Regions from separate parts of the Homo sapiens genome. Here regions 1, 3 and 4 are each linked to region 2. Evidence: promoter capture Hi-C in human tissues and cell types (Jung and others, 2019). All regions are on one chromosome and are shown on one strand. The core of a region is centred on a gene start or on the middle of the fragment in contact, and the rest is flanking DNA. Distances in the headings are between cores, read along the strand shown. Region 1 has its middle 13 kb from the start of PF4. Region 2 holds the start of CXCL3 (C-X-C motif chemokine ligand 3). Region 3 overlaps LOC105377277 (a long non-coding RNA gene). Region 4 has its middle 56 kb from the start of PF4.

Evidence for each region. Contacts are between HindIII fragments. The study calls those that stand out against the background at their distance.
Region 1: a fragment that was not itself captured here is called in contact with the fragment with the promoter of CXCL3 in region 2 in 2 of the 25 tissues and cell types used here (H1 embryonic stem cells and pancreas).
Region 3: a contact is called between a fragment that was not itself captured here and the fragment with the promoter of CXCL3 in region 2, in 3 of the 25 tissues and cell types used here (H1 embryonic stem cells, ovary and thymus).
Region 4: a contact is called between a fragment that was not itself captured here and the fragment with the promoter of CXCL3 in region 2, in 3 of the 25 tissues and cell types used here (adrenal gland, hippocampus and stomach).

Annotation. Positions count from the first base shown.
Region 1 is chr4:73,967,601-73,970,636 of GRCh38, reverse strand. No RefSeq gene overlaps it. Among named protein-coding and RNA genes, the nearest start is that of PF4, 13 kb to the left of the region's middle. RefSeq lists an enhancer at 2,258-2,759. The HindIII fragment of the contact is 4,172 bases long and covers 1-3,036 here.
Region 2 is chr4:74,037,032-74,039,966 of GRCh38, reverse strand. It overlaps CXCL3 (C-X-C motif chemokine ligand 3), which reads left to right and starts at 1,278. Exons shown (of 4, transcript NM_002090.3): 1 at 1,278-1,455; 2 at 1,554-1,677; 3 at 1,791-1,874; 4 at 2,690-2,935. The coding sequence starts at 1,356. The coding sequence ends at 2,705. LOC105377275 (a long non-coding RNA gene) reads right to left here and starts at 1,022. Exons shown (of 2, transcript XR_938875.3): 1 at 1-1,022. The HindIII fragment of the contact is 6,255 bases long and covers 1-2,270 here.
Region 3 is chr4:74,116,896-74,119,861 of GRCh38, reverse strand. All of the region lies in intron 1 of LOC105377277 (a long non-coding RNA gene), which reads left to right. It also overlaps a transcript of MTHFD2L not described here. Among named protein-coding and RNA genes, the nearest start is that of CXCL2, 19 kb to the right of the region's middle. The HindIII fragment of the contact is 3,408 bases long and covers 1-2,966 here.
Region 4 is chr4:73,924,140-73,927,332 of GRCh38, reverse strand. No RefSeq gene overlaps it. Among named protein-coding and RNA genes, the nearest start is that of PF4, 56 kb to the left of the region's middle. The HindIII fragment of the contact is 9,274 bases long and covers 1-3,193 here.

The DNA of each region.
Region 1 (3,036 bases), core at 117-2,616, 69 kb after region 2:
AGAATCTCAAGATTATGTGTTTTCCAAGTTGCTTGCTTTCTCTCTGGCTCTTTCAGGGACACCAATAAGTCATAGATTTGGTCTCTTCATATTATTCTATGTTGCTCTGATATTTTGTTCATTCTTTTTTATTGTTTTTGCTTTATTTCTGGCTGACTGAGTTATTTCAGAGTCAACCTGCAAGCTCTGAGATTTTTTTCCTCCACTTGATCTATTCTGCTGCTAATACTTGTGACTGTATTACAAAATTCTTGTAGTGTATTTTTCAGCTCTATCAGATGTTTTTTAAAAATATGATTTAATCTATTAGCTCCTGTATTATTTTATTGTGATTGTTAGATTTTTTGTATTGAATTATTTAATGGTCTCCCAAATCTCGATGATCTTCATTCCTATCCATAATCTGAATTCTATTTTTGTCATTTCAGCTATTTCAGCCCAGTTAAGAATCCTTGCTCAGAAACTAGTATAGCCATTTTCAGGGAATAAGACACTCTGGCTTTGTGATTTGCTAGAGTTCTTTTATTTGTTCTTTCTCATCTGTGTGGATGGGTTTACCTTTAACTGTGGTATAAATTGAAGACCACCAGTAGACTTCTTTTTTAGATGCTTTCAGAGGGCCAAAGCTTTTTGCAGGGTCCTTATTTTTAGCTGAATTCTTGTCATTGATATCACAGAAGGGTATATTAACAAATTATTTTTGGTGTTGAAATTTTGGGCTGCAATCCAGTAGGTGGTACTTAAGTGTAATGGCCAGTAGGCAAGCTTTTGCTCAGTCACATGGCTTCTCTGTATTTCTTCATGACTATAGCCATGCTCCTTCTCAGCACTCTGAAAGTAAGAGTTCCTCTCTCACTTCAGTGCTGGCTGAAGATGTCAATTTAACACTGCTGGGCTGTGTATCTCAGCTCTGGGGCAATGTCAGGCTTTATGTTCCCTCCCAAGCTTAGAGGTAACAGGGGAAAGGAACTTTGCAGTGGTTGTGATAGAGAGTCTTTCACTTATCTTTTGGGGCTCCATCTTGAGAGGTGTGGAGCTGCTATCAGTCAGTGTGATCAACTTGGGTTGCGGCAGCTGTCCTGTGAGCCCAAGCCAGGGAGGCATACCTTGTGACAAGTGAGTGGCGGGGAAAGAGGGCAGACAGACCAGTAACCTCTCCATAGGGCAATTAATGCTTGCTCAAGGTGCAGTTGAAGCACTAAGGGTCTTTGCTCATTCCCCAGGGCAAGGGCAGAAAGGGCAGTACCACTGCAGTGGCAGTGGTAGAGGGGTTTTCAGTAGCCTCTGGGAACTCTACCTCTGAGAACCATATAGCCACAGTTCCTGGGAATGTTCAGCCAGGGGTTGAGGTGGCTGCACTGGTAGCCTGAGCTGAGGACCCCTCCTAGTTGGGGACTTGGGGGTTGAGGGTTTACAGGGAGGAGAGACTGGCTTCCTCTCTGTATAGTGACTATGGTGTGCTGTAAGCTTGGGTGAAGCCCTCAGGCTCAGTTTCTTCCCCAGCCTGTGAACAGAAGAGACAGAACATTGTTGTGACAGTGGCAGAAAGGAACATTGATTGCCTCTTGGAGCCCCTTCCCAGGAAATTCAGAGCCACTACCAGTGGGTATTCTCAGCTGTTTGTGGGGCATCTAAACTGTGGACCTGAGCAGGGGCCCTGCCTGCTGAAGAGTGGGTGCTGGGGGCTCACAGGGAAGGTAGACTGAACTCCTCTCTGTATGGTGGCTGTGGAGTGCTTGGGTGCCAGTGAAGTGACTAGGCCCTTTGTTCCTTCCTCAGCCGAAAGGTGGTTAGGGCAGTACTACTGCAGCTGCAATGGCCAAGAGGTTGTGGGTTGACTCTGAGATTTCCTCCTCAGAGAAATGCTGAGCTGCCCCCAACTGAAGTGTTCAAGTGGGGGCAGGGTGGTTGTGCTGGAGTCCAAGGTTAGGAGGCCTCACCAACTAAGGAGAAGTTGGGATGAGAACCTGCATGTAAAACAGTCTGGCCACTTTTTGATGAAGCAGCTGCACTGTGCTAGGGTTACATGTTAGTCCCTCGTCACCACATACTCTCCAGAGCCTGAAGGCAACAATAGTGAGGGCTGTGAGAAAGCAAAGATGGCAGCCTACCACTCCCTTTAGGGGCTCTGTGTCATGGAAATGCAGAGCTGCTACCAACCTGAGAGCCCTGATGGGAAGTGGTTGGAGTCCCAGGTTGGGAGCTCCCATCCACTGAGGAGAAATGTGGGATCCACATAAAAAAAAGAGTCTGGCCATTTTTCTGTGGGACAGCTGTGCTGTGCTGGGGGTTTGTGCCAGTCCCTAGTCACTGTAGGCTCTCCAGAGCCTGAAGGCAACAACAGTGAGGGCTGCAAGGCAGGAAAGTTGCTGCCCCCTTGCCCTGGAGATCTGTCCTGGGGAAGTGCAGAGCTGCTACTAGCCTCATAACCCCAGTGGTGGGAGGCTGGAGTCCTAGACCAATGGGTCTCATCCTGTGAGGTGCAGTGTAAGTGAAGCCTGTAGACAGTTGCTGCTCAACCCCCTGGATTTGGCTCCTTTCCTGGATGTGTGTAAAGGAGACTAACTTCCCCCTTTGCCAGAGCTGAAGCCACTAATGCTGGAATGCCTGGGGATCAAAGGCTTTTGGGACTTTGGCTATGCCTCAGCAGTGGCTCTGCTGAGACTCCCATAGCTTTGCATATCAGTCTGAAGGTTTTTGTGGGATGAGCTCACAAGGGCATCTCCTGAGACCAGGGCTTGCAAAGATCTATGGACCAAGTGTGTGTCCCAGGGTTTCTCATTCTCTCACCATTTCCCAGTGGTCGGGGAGCCTCCTCTGGCTCCATGCCACTGTCAGGTAGGCATTAATCTATTCTTGCTCCTCTGTGTTCTCCTTGGGTTGAGTTGTTTGTTTGATGAATCCCTGGGTTTGTGCCCACCTGGGTGTTTCAATTGAAGATGTAGTATTTATTCACCACTTTTTCTTCTCTTTGTGAAAGTAGTGCACACTAACTGCTTCCAGTCAGCCATTTTGGCCATCATGTAAACTAAAACT
Region 2 (2,935 bases), core at 29-2,528:
ACTCCACGTCTCAAAGAGGTCTGAGACCAACTTGTAGAATCACACTTAAACCCTCTAAAACCTAATGACAAATCAAAATACATTATCTAAAACTAGAAAAAGGGACAAAGGTGTCAGGTTAAAAGACTGAAAATCCAGACGAGAAAAAAAAGTGCCCTGTTAATGTTTCCAGAGAAAGATCCCCCAGTGCTGAATACCAGAAAATTCTATAGTAAATGAAATGTGATTTTATGTGTGATCTGGTGTTTAAATGTCATCAGCAGGCAGCTGTTTGCTCCTTCAGTGGGAATGGTGTTTGCACACCAGGTACCTACTCTCTAGTGTCATTCGCAAAGACAGAACCAGAAACATTGAGCCCATGATCCTGCTGGACCCAGCCCCTCCACAGCTTCAGAGTGACAGCCAGTGTCATATTTCTAGATCAAATCTGAATCCCTCCCACTGGGAGAAGGTCTCCAGGGGATTTAGGAAGTTCCAACATTTCAGAGGGAGGAAGGACGTTATGCAGGATACAAAAGAAGAGGTCATGTTATACAGCCCTGGCTTCCACGGACACTAACACTGAATTCAAATTTTGACACTGATAATCTGTTGCCACCAAATGGAAAACGTAAACAAGGTATTCTAAGTGTGATTAGAGAATATGCAAAACAAGGAACAAGTAGAACATTCTTCTCTGGAATCCGAGACGATGGCTGTACTTTCACAGAGAGCATGATGTTAGATGTACATGAAATAACGCTAAACCGAAAATGAGAGAGGCAGAGACCGGGAGGTTAACATAGAGGATAGACTATATAGAGAGAGGATAGCTGAGGGAAAACTCGCCTGTCTCCGGGTCCCCAGCAAATCTGATAACTAAGGAGACAAAGCTCTCTTCCTCTAAAGAAGTCGTGCCTTTCCTGTCCTGGTTCTCACGGGTCCCCCCAGCTCTTTCCTCCAACCCTACCCCGTACGCGGGGGGTCATCGGGGACCTAAGGTCCCCCCTCACAGGCTGTATCTTCAGCGAGGTGGACTCACTGCCTCTCCAGGAATTTGGGGCAGAAAATGAATATCCCAAAGTCCCAGAGTGCACGGGGGTTACTCTGGAGGGCGAGGCGTAGGCGTCACCAGTGGGCTCCCCCTACCCGTATCCGACTCCACCCCGGGGGCGGGGCCGTCGCCTTCCTTCGGGACTCCGGATCGATCTGGAGCTCCGGGAATTTCCCTGGCCCGGCCGCTCCGGGCTTTCCAGTCTCAACCATGCATAAAAAGGGTTCGCCGATCTTGGGGAGCCACACAGCCCGGGTCGCAGGCACCTCCCCGCCAGCTCTCCCGCTTCTCGCACAGCTTCCCGACGCGTCTGCTGAGCCCCATGGCCCACGCCACGCTCTCCGCCGCCCCCAGCAATCCCCGGCTCCTGCGGGTGGCGCTGCTGCTCCTGCTCCTGGTGGCCGCCAGCCGGCGCGCAGCAGGTGGGTCCCGGCGCCCTGGGGTCCCCGGGCCGGACGCGGCTGGGGTGGGCGCCCCGCGCCGACAGCCCCGCTCAATCAGCGAGTCTATTCTTCCCTAGGAGCGTCCGTGGTCACTGAACTGCGCTGCCAGTGCTTGCAGACACTGCAGGGAATTCACCTCAAGAACATCCAAAGTGTGAATGTAAGGTCCCCCGGACCCCACTGCGCCCAAACCGAAGTCATGTAAGTCCCGCCCCGCGCTTCCGCTGCCACCGCTGGGGTCCCCGACTCTCCCGCTGCCCCAACCCTGTCCCCAGCCCGACCTCCTGTCTCACGGAATTCCCTTCTCTCTGCAGAGCCACACTCAAGAATGGGAAGAAAGCTTGTCTCAACCCCGCATCCCCCATGGTTCAGAAAATCATCGAAAAGATACTGAACAAGTGAGTTGTAATTTCCATATACACAGGCGACTGGAGCCGTTGGTCAGAAATACTGGCATCTGCCCCCTAAAAATAAAATCAGGGAACCCCAAGAGTTAGCTGAAGGACTAGAAATTGTGATTATTATTTTCACAATTAAAGTTGCCATTAAGGTTATTAATCTGCTCTGGTGCCAGAGGATATTTCAGTATTTCAGTGTCTTCCATTTCCAGGCCTAACCCCTGGGAGGGTAAATGTGGGTTTCTAGAATACTAAGTAAATTTGACTAACAATGCCAAAATGCCCCCTGCCTGTTTTGGGACGTTTACCTCAGTCCCTAATGGGCTTCAGACCTGAAAAATGCAATGTCTGGTTTGGGCACTTTGGGCCTGTAAGCCTTCTTGGTGAAGAGCAGAAACTTTGCAGTAACACCTTCAGTGAGTTCAAGGCTAGGATCCCTGTCAACGTTATTTAATCTCTTTGAGCTTTAGCAAAATAGGGTAGATAATGGTAGTTATTTCATAGGGTTGTGTGCAGCTTAAGGGAGATCATGAATGGACATTTCTAACCCAATGTGACAATCAGTGACCAATATGTTTTGGCTTTTTCAAACCAAGAATCTAGTTGAGTCCACAGCCACTTCTTTCTTGAAAAAAAAAAAAAAAGCATTCAGGAGTGCAAGTTTTCTGCTATAGAAGGCAGTGGGTACAGACAGACCTTCCCTGAGTGGAGGGCTGGGAGAGAGTCTGCATGGGGACATCCCTCCAAGCAACTTCAGAGTGACAGAAGAGCAGCCTTCCTTAGCACCTGCAACAGTAACCCTTTTCTCATCACAGGGGGAGCACCAACTGACAGGAGAGAAGTAAGAAGCTTATCAGCGTATCATTGACACTTCCTGCAGGGTGGTCCCTGCCCTTACCAGAGCTGAAAATGAAAAAGAGAACAGCAGCTTTCTAGGGACAGCTGGAAAGGACTTAATGTGTTTGACTATTTCTTACGAGGGTTCTACTTATTTATGTATTTATTTTTGAAAGCTTGTATTTTAATATTTTACATGCTGTTATTTAAAGATGTGAGTGTGT
Region 3 (2,966 bases), core at 157-2,656, 80 kb before region 2:
GGAGAATGTGAATTATCTGGTGCAATGACCCTGTAATTTAAGTAGGACTCATGGTATTTTGTTTTTTTTGTTTTTTTTTGAGATGGAGTCTCGCTCTGTCACCCAGGCTGGAGTGCAGTGGCACGATCTCGGCTCACTGGAAGCTCTGCCTCTCAGGTTCACGCCATTCTCCTGCTTCAGCCTCCTGAGTAGCTGGGACTACAGACACCCGCCACCATGCCCGGCTAATTTTTTGTATTTTTAGTAGAGACGGGGTTTCACCTTGTTAGCCAGGATGGTCTCAATCTCCTGACCTCGTGATCCGCCCGCCTCGGCCTCCCAAAGTCCTGGGATTACAGGCATGAGCCACCGCGCCCGGCCAGTATTTTCTTTTAAATGCAGCTTTCTTTTTGTTGGCAGTCTTAGAGTCTTCTGCTGTCTCATCATTGGTTCTTTCCCACTTTTCAAAGAAACTCTCCAGTGATGATTGTTTTTATTCATTTTGGCTAGGGTTAGCTTGTGGGCTTACCAAAACTGATTGAGACAAGTGTGCAGTGCAGGAAAGAGGTGCGGATGGAAGTGACAAATAAAATAATGGGCAGGACACACATGGACTAAAATAAGTGTCAGATTCTGACTTAAAGCCTGCCACCAGATGCAGCTGTACAGTTGAAGTACATCAACTCACTTGCCACTATAAAGCCAGCAACCAGATGCAGCTGTACAGTTGAAGTACATCAACGCACTTGCCACTATAAAGCCAGCCACCAGATGCAGCTGAATTATCACCTGCCACTCACTGACAGGGTTTTGATATGCGTCTGCAGGCAACTGATTTATTATGGTCTCTGGGCAGTCAAACCTCTCTGCTAATGTTAATCTGTGTTTGCAACCACTCCTCAGAGCTAGCATCACCACCTCAGCTCCACCTCAGATCATCAGGCATTAGACTTTATAAGGAGCATGCAATCTAGATCCCTCTCATGCGCAGTTCACAATAGGGTGTGCACTCCTATGAGAATCTAATGCCACCACTGATCCGACAGGAGGCAGAGCTCAGGAGGTAATGTGAGCAATGGGGAGCGGCTATAAATACAGATGAAGCTTTGCTCCCTTGCCTTTGGCTCACCTCCTGCTGTGTGGCATGGTTCCTAACAAGCCATGGACCACTGTCAGTTCTTGGCTCAGGGTTTGGGGATCCCTGCTCACATGACCTTTTCTCTGTGTGGTTGCATCTCTGGTGTCTTCTCCTCTTCTTATAATGACACCAGTCATCTTAGATTAAGACCAATCCACATGATCTCATTTAATCTTAACTACCTCTTTAAAGGCCCTATTTCTAAATACAGTTATATTCTGAGGTGTACTGAGAGTTCAGACTTTAACACATTTACAGGGAATGCAATTCAGTCCATAATACTTAATGAAATGCCTTTGCTCTGTTTCTACTGATATTTATTTTGTTTTATAAGAAAAGTTTCAGTTCCTGGTATACTGTGCACTGTTGAAGAGCCTTTGCAGTAATTACAATTAAAAAGTACTTTATTTTTATCTGGCACCAATGAACAGCTGAGGCCTATGTATTTTTTCGTGTGAATCAGGAGAGGACAAAAGAGGGTTAAAATCTGTATTAATGTGCTCACTAGACAAGAAAAGCAAACTTTTATTCTATAAGTGTTTAGTTTTTGATATCTTTAACTTTTGATATTTTACTAAGCTTAATTATTTGTTCATTAACTTAATAATGTTATTTAATAGAATCAGTGTTATTCATAATTTCATAAATACTTTTTCAACACCCTATGTACCAAGCACGGTTGTAGGAGTTGTAAGTACAACAGTAAATAGGATATATGGGAAAGATATATAAGAAAGATATATAAATAAGATATCTCTTCCCTTATAGGTCTTTCAGTCTAGTGAGGATATGAAGTGGCAAGTAAAATGTAGTCAGCAGAGTATTATATCATCGATAAGTACAGAGTTCATGGAAGCAAATGGACAGGACTTTGCATCTGTTTGGTGGGAATTGATATAGAGACTGAGAATTAGGGTTGAGCATAGAGTTCTTAAGACAAAAGTGATGGGTGAAAAGAAGAGGTGACAGTCCTCAGAACCACAGAGTGTTTACATCTGTGTGCTCTCTCCTTTAGAAACCCTGGGCCTGCTGCGGAAGCAGCTCTCATGAGGGAAGTTGCTGCATGGACTTTCAGGCCACTGAGTGACTCTTCTTGCAAAGAAATGACCCCAAATGTTTGAACCTTTGAACATGTGCTCAGGGAAGCTATTGATCTATATATAGATCCTGCATATAACCTATGCATTCTTTAAAATTCAATCCAAGCAGCAGCCCTACTTGAACGCTTCCTGAAAGATCATTCTTTCACCCTCCACCTCCCTGTACAGATTAAGATCTGAAGGTTTGTTCTCCAGGCCTGGGAACATTTCTGTACCCTGCAGCCTGAAAACCCACTGTACCTTTTCTTAACTGACTTCCTGGTTGATTTCCTCTTAACAATAGTAGCTGAATCTGAATCCCAGGAACCTCACACATAGTAAACACTCAAGAAAAATCTGCTAAACAGTGTTAGTCTTTCACAGTCATTCTGGGTCAGCAGCCAAAAGATTCTGTGTCCGAGGCCAGGTTCCTTCTGTTGGCTCCATTCTAAGCTCAGCATGCCATGACTCACTGTTTCCTAGACAATGTCATTTGTTGTCATGGCTATGAAGCCCCGTCCACTTGTGGACTTTCCCAAGGACTTCAGAATCTCCCTTTAAAATCCCTTTCTCCAAGCATTTCCATCACAGAGGCCTCAAGATCAAAGGAGTTATAGAATATTGTTACCCTGAGGATAAATCAGCTATTGCCAAACATTTCCCACATGAACTTTGCTTTCAGCATCTACAAAAGAGAAAACGATATGTGGTTTACTTTATAAACTTGGTGAAATAAAACCTAACAAGCTAATTTTAATGTAGCAGACATG
Region 4 (3,193 bases), core at 493-2,992, 110 kb after region 2:
GGAATGGTACCAGCTCTTCTTTACATGTGGTCAAATTAGTTGTAAATCCATTTGGTCCTGGGGTTTTTTTAGTTGGTATTCTATTTATTACTGTCTCAATTTCAGAGCCCAGTATTGGTCTGTTCAGGGATTCAGTTTCTTCCTGGTTCAGTCTTGGTGTATGTGTCCAATAATTTATCTATTTCTTTTAGATTTTCTAGTTTATGTGCATAAAGATGTTCATAATATTCTCTGATAGTTGTTTGTATTTCTGGGAGGTCAGTGGTAATATCCCCTTTGTCATTTCTGACTGTGGGTATTTGAATCTTCCCTCTTTTCTTCTTTATTAGTCTAGCTAGCAGTCTATATACTTTATTAATTTTGTCAAAAAATACAGCTTCTGGATTTGTTGATCTTCTGAATGGTTTTTCATGCCTCAATCTCCTTCAGTTCAGCTCTGATTTTGGTTATTTTTTGTCTTCTGCTAGCTTTGGGACTGATTTACATTTGGTTCTCTAGGTTTTTTAGTTGTGATTTTAGGTTGCTAACTTGAGATCTTTCTAACTTTTTGATGTGGGCATTTGGTGCTGTTACTTTCCCTCTTAACACTGCCTTAGCTGTGTCCCAGACATTCTGATTTGTTGAATCTTTGTTCGCAGTAGTTTCAATGAATTTCTTGATTTCTGTCTTAATTTTACAATTTACTCAAAAGTCATTCAGGGGCACGTTTTTCATTTTCCTTGTAATCGTTATGAGTGAATTTCTTAGTCTTGATTTCTAATTTAATTGTGTTGTGTTCTGAGTGACTCTTTGTTATGACTTCAGTTCTTACTTCCAATTATCTGATCAGTTTTACAGTATGTGCCACGTGGCAATGAGAAAAATGTATATTCTGTTGCTTTGGGGTGGACAGTTCTGTAGGTATCTATCAGGTCCATTTGATTCAGTGCTGGGTTTAGGTCCTGAATAGCTTTGCTAATTTTTTCTCAATGATCTGTCTAATATTGTCAGTGGAGTATTAACGTCTCCCACTATTATTGTGTGGAAGTCTAAGTCTCTTTGAAGGTCTCTAACAACTTGCTTTATGAGTCTGGGTGCTCTTGTGTTCAGTGCATCTATCTTTAGAATAGTTATATCTACTTGTTAAATTGAACCCTTTACTATTTTGTAATGCCCTTGTCTTTTTTGACCTTTGTTGGTTTAAAGTCTGTTTTATCAGAAACTAGGATTGCAACCCCTGCTTTTTTCTGTTTTCCATTTGCTTGGCAGATTTTTCCTCTATGCCTTTATTTTGAGCCTATGTGTGTTATCAGATGTGAGATCAGTCTCTTGAAGATAGCATACCAAAAGGTCTTGGTTCTTTATCCAGTTTGCCACTCTGTGTCTTTTAATTGGGACATTTAGACAATTTATATTTAAGGTTAGTATTGATATGTTTGGATTTGATCCTGTCATCATGATGTTAGCTGGTTATTTTGCAGACTTATTTATGTGGTTGCTTTATAGAAAATGCCTCAGCATTTGCTTGTCTGAAAAAGACATTATTTCTCTTTTGCTTATGAAGCTTAGTTTGGCTGGATATGAATTTCTGGGTTAGAATTTCTTTTCTTTAAAAGTGTTGATTATTGCCCCCCAATCTTATTCACTGCAAAGTGATTCCATTAAAACACAAACCTAATTAGGTTACCTTTCTGCCTTGGGAGTCTTCAATGGTTCTGTATCATCTACAGCAAATACCACTGGGCATGAGTAACGTATTAGTTTGCTTGATAACAAAGTACCACACACTGAGTGACTTAAAAACATAAATTTATTTTCATACAATTCTGGAGGCTAGAAGTCAAAGATCAAGGTGTCAGCTGAGTTTTTTTTTCCCAAACATTTCTAGACATTAAGAGAGTATATACATGGTTATAAAAAGTCACTTAGTCTGGAGTATATTGAAATCAAATTTATTTGTATATGATAGATTCAAAATATGTAATATATAAAATATCATAAATAAGTCCAAGAAGAAATATATAAATATTTCATTAGAAAATTTTAACATATATTTTTAAATAATTGATAATTTATGCAGAAAAGACATTAAGATACAGACTATTAAAAAGCACAATTAATACATTCCATGCAATGGATATATCTGTATATATGTTTTTACATATATATCGATATATATGTATATATGTATATACATGTATCGATACATATACACATATATATCGATATATATACACATATACATATATATGTAAAAACATATATACATGATATATATATCAATATATGTAAAAACATATATACATGATATATATATCAATATATACATATCCATTGCATGAAATGTATTAATTGTGCTTTTTATGTATATGTATGTATATTAATATATATCTCCACATACTCAATTTTCAATAGCTACAGAGTATATTCTTTTCTTAAAAAAGCCCACTTTATTGAGGTGTAACTGATATACAAAAAGAAAAATAACAAACAGTTAAGGAGGAAATTTTTGGAAGTAATGGATAGGTTCATGGCAAAGATTATGGTGATAGTTTCAGAGAACATAGTATTTTCAAGAAGACATGGACCATTTATGAAAGCTGACCACATATTTAGATAGAAGGCAAGACTCAAAAATACTTTTCGATGTTTGTTGTGATACACACAATGATCTGTGATTATTGTGTGAATAAGTTAGGTATCAACCACAAAACTGTACTTTAGAAAAAAACTCAACAATACTGAAAGCAACATATATTTGGAAATTAATAAAATCACTTCTAAATAACTCAAAAATCAGAAAATCAGAAAATACATAAAAACTTATTAGAAAATATATAGAATCAACTGATAATTTTGCCGTATGTTGAACACATGAGACCTAGGTAATGTAGGGACATTTACAGCTTTAAAATGCTATGCTAGAAAATGAACTTAAAATATCTAAATTAAATAAAAAGACAAAGAGAAGGAACTAGATATAAGAGTAGAAATTTATGAAATTGGAAACACACATTCAATAGAAAGGATCACCAAAACCAAGAGTTGGTTGTTGAATAGATTTTGGTGTGATTGGTCAAGACTGCAGACATTACAAAGTTAACAAGAAGATGTTATCATTTGGTGGCGATTAATGTGAAAATAGGTAAAATGGACAAATTTGTAGAAACATATAACAGTAAATTAAAGAGGAAATATTATATTTAAATAAACC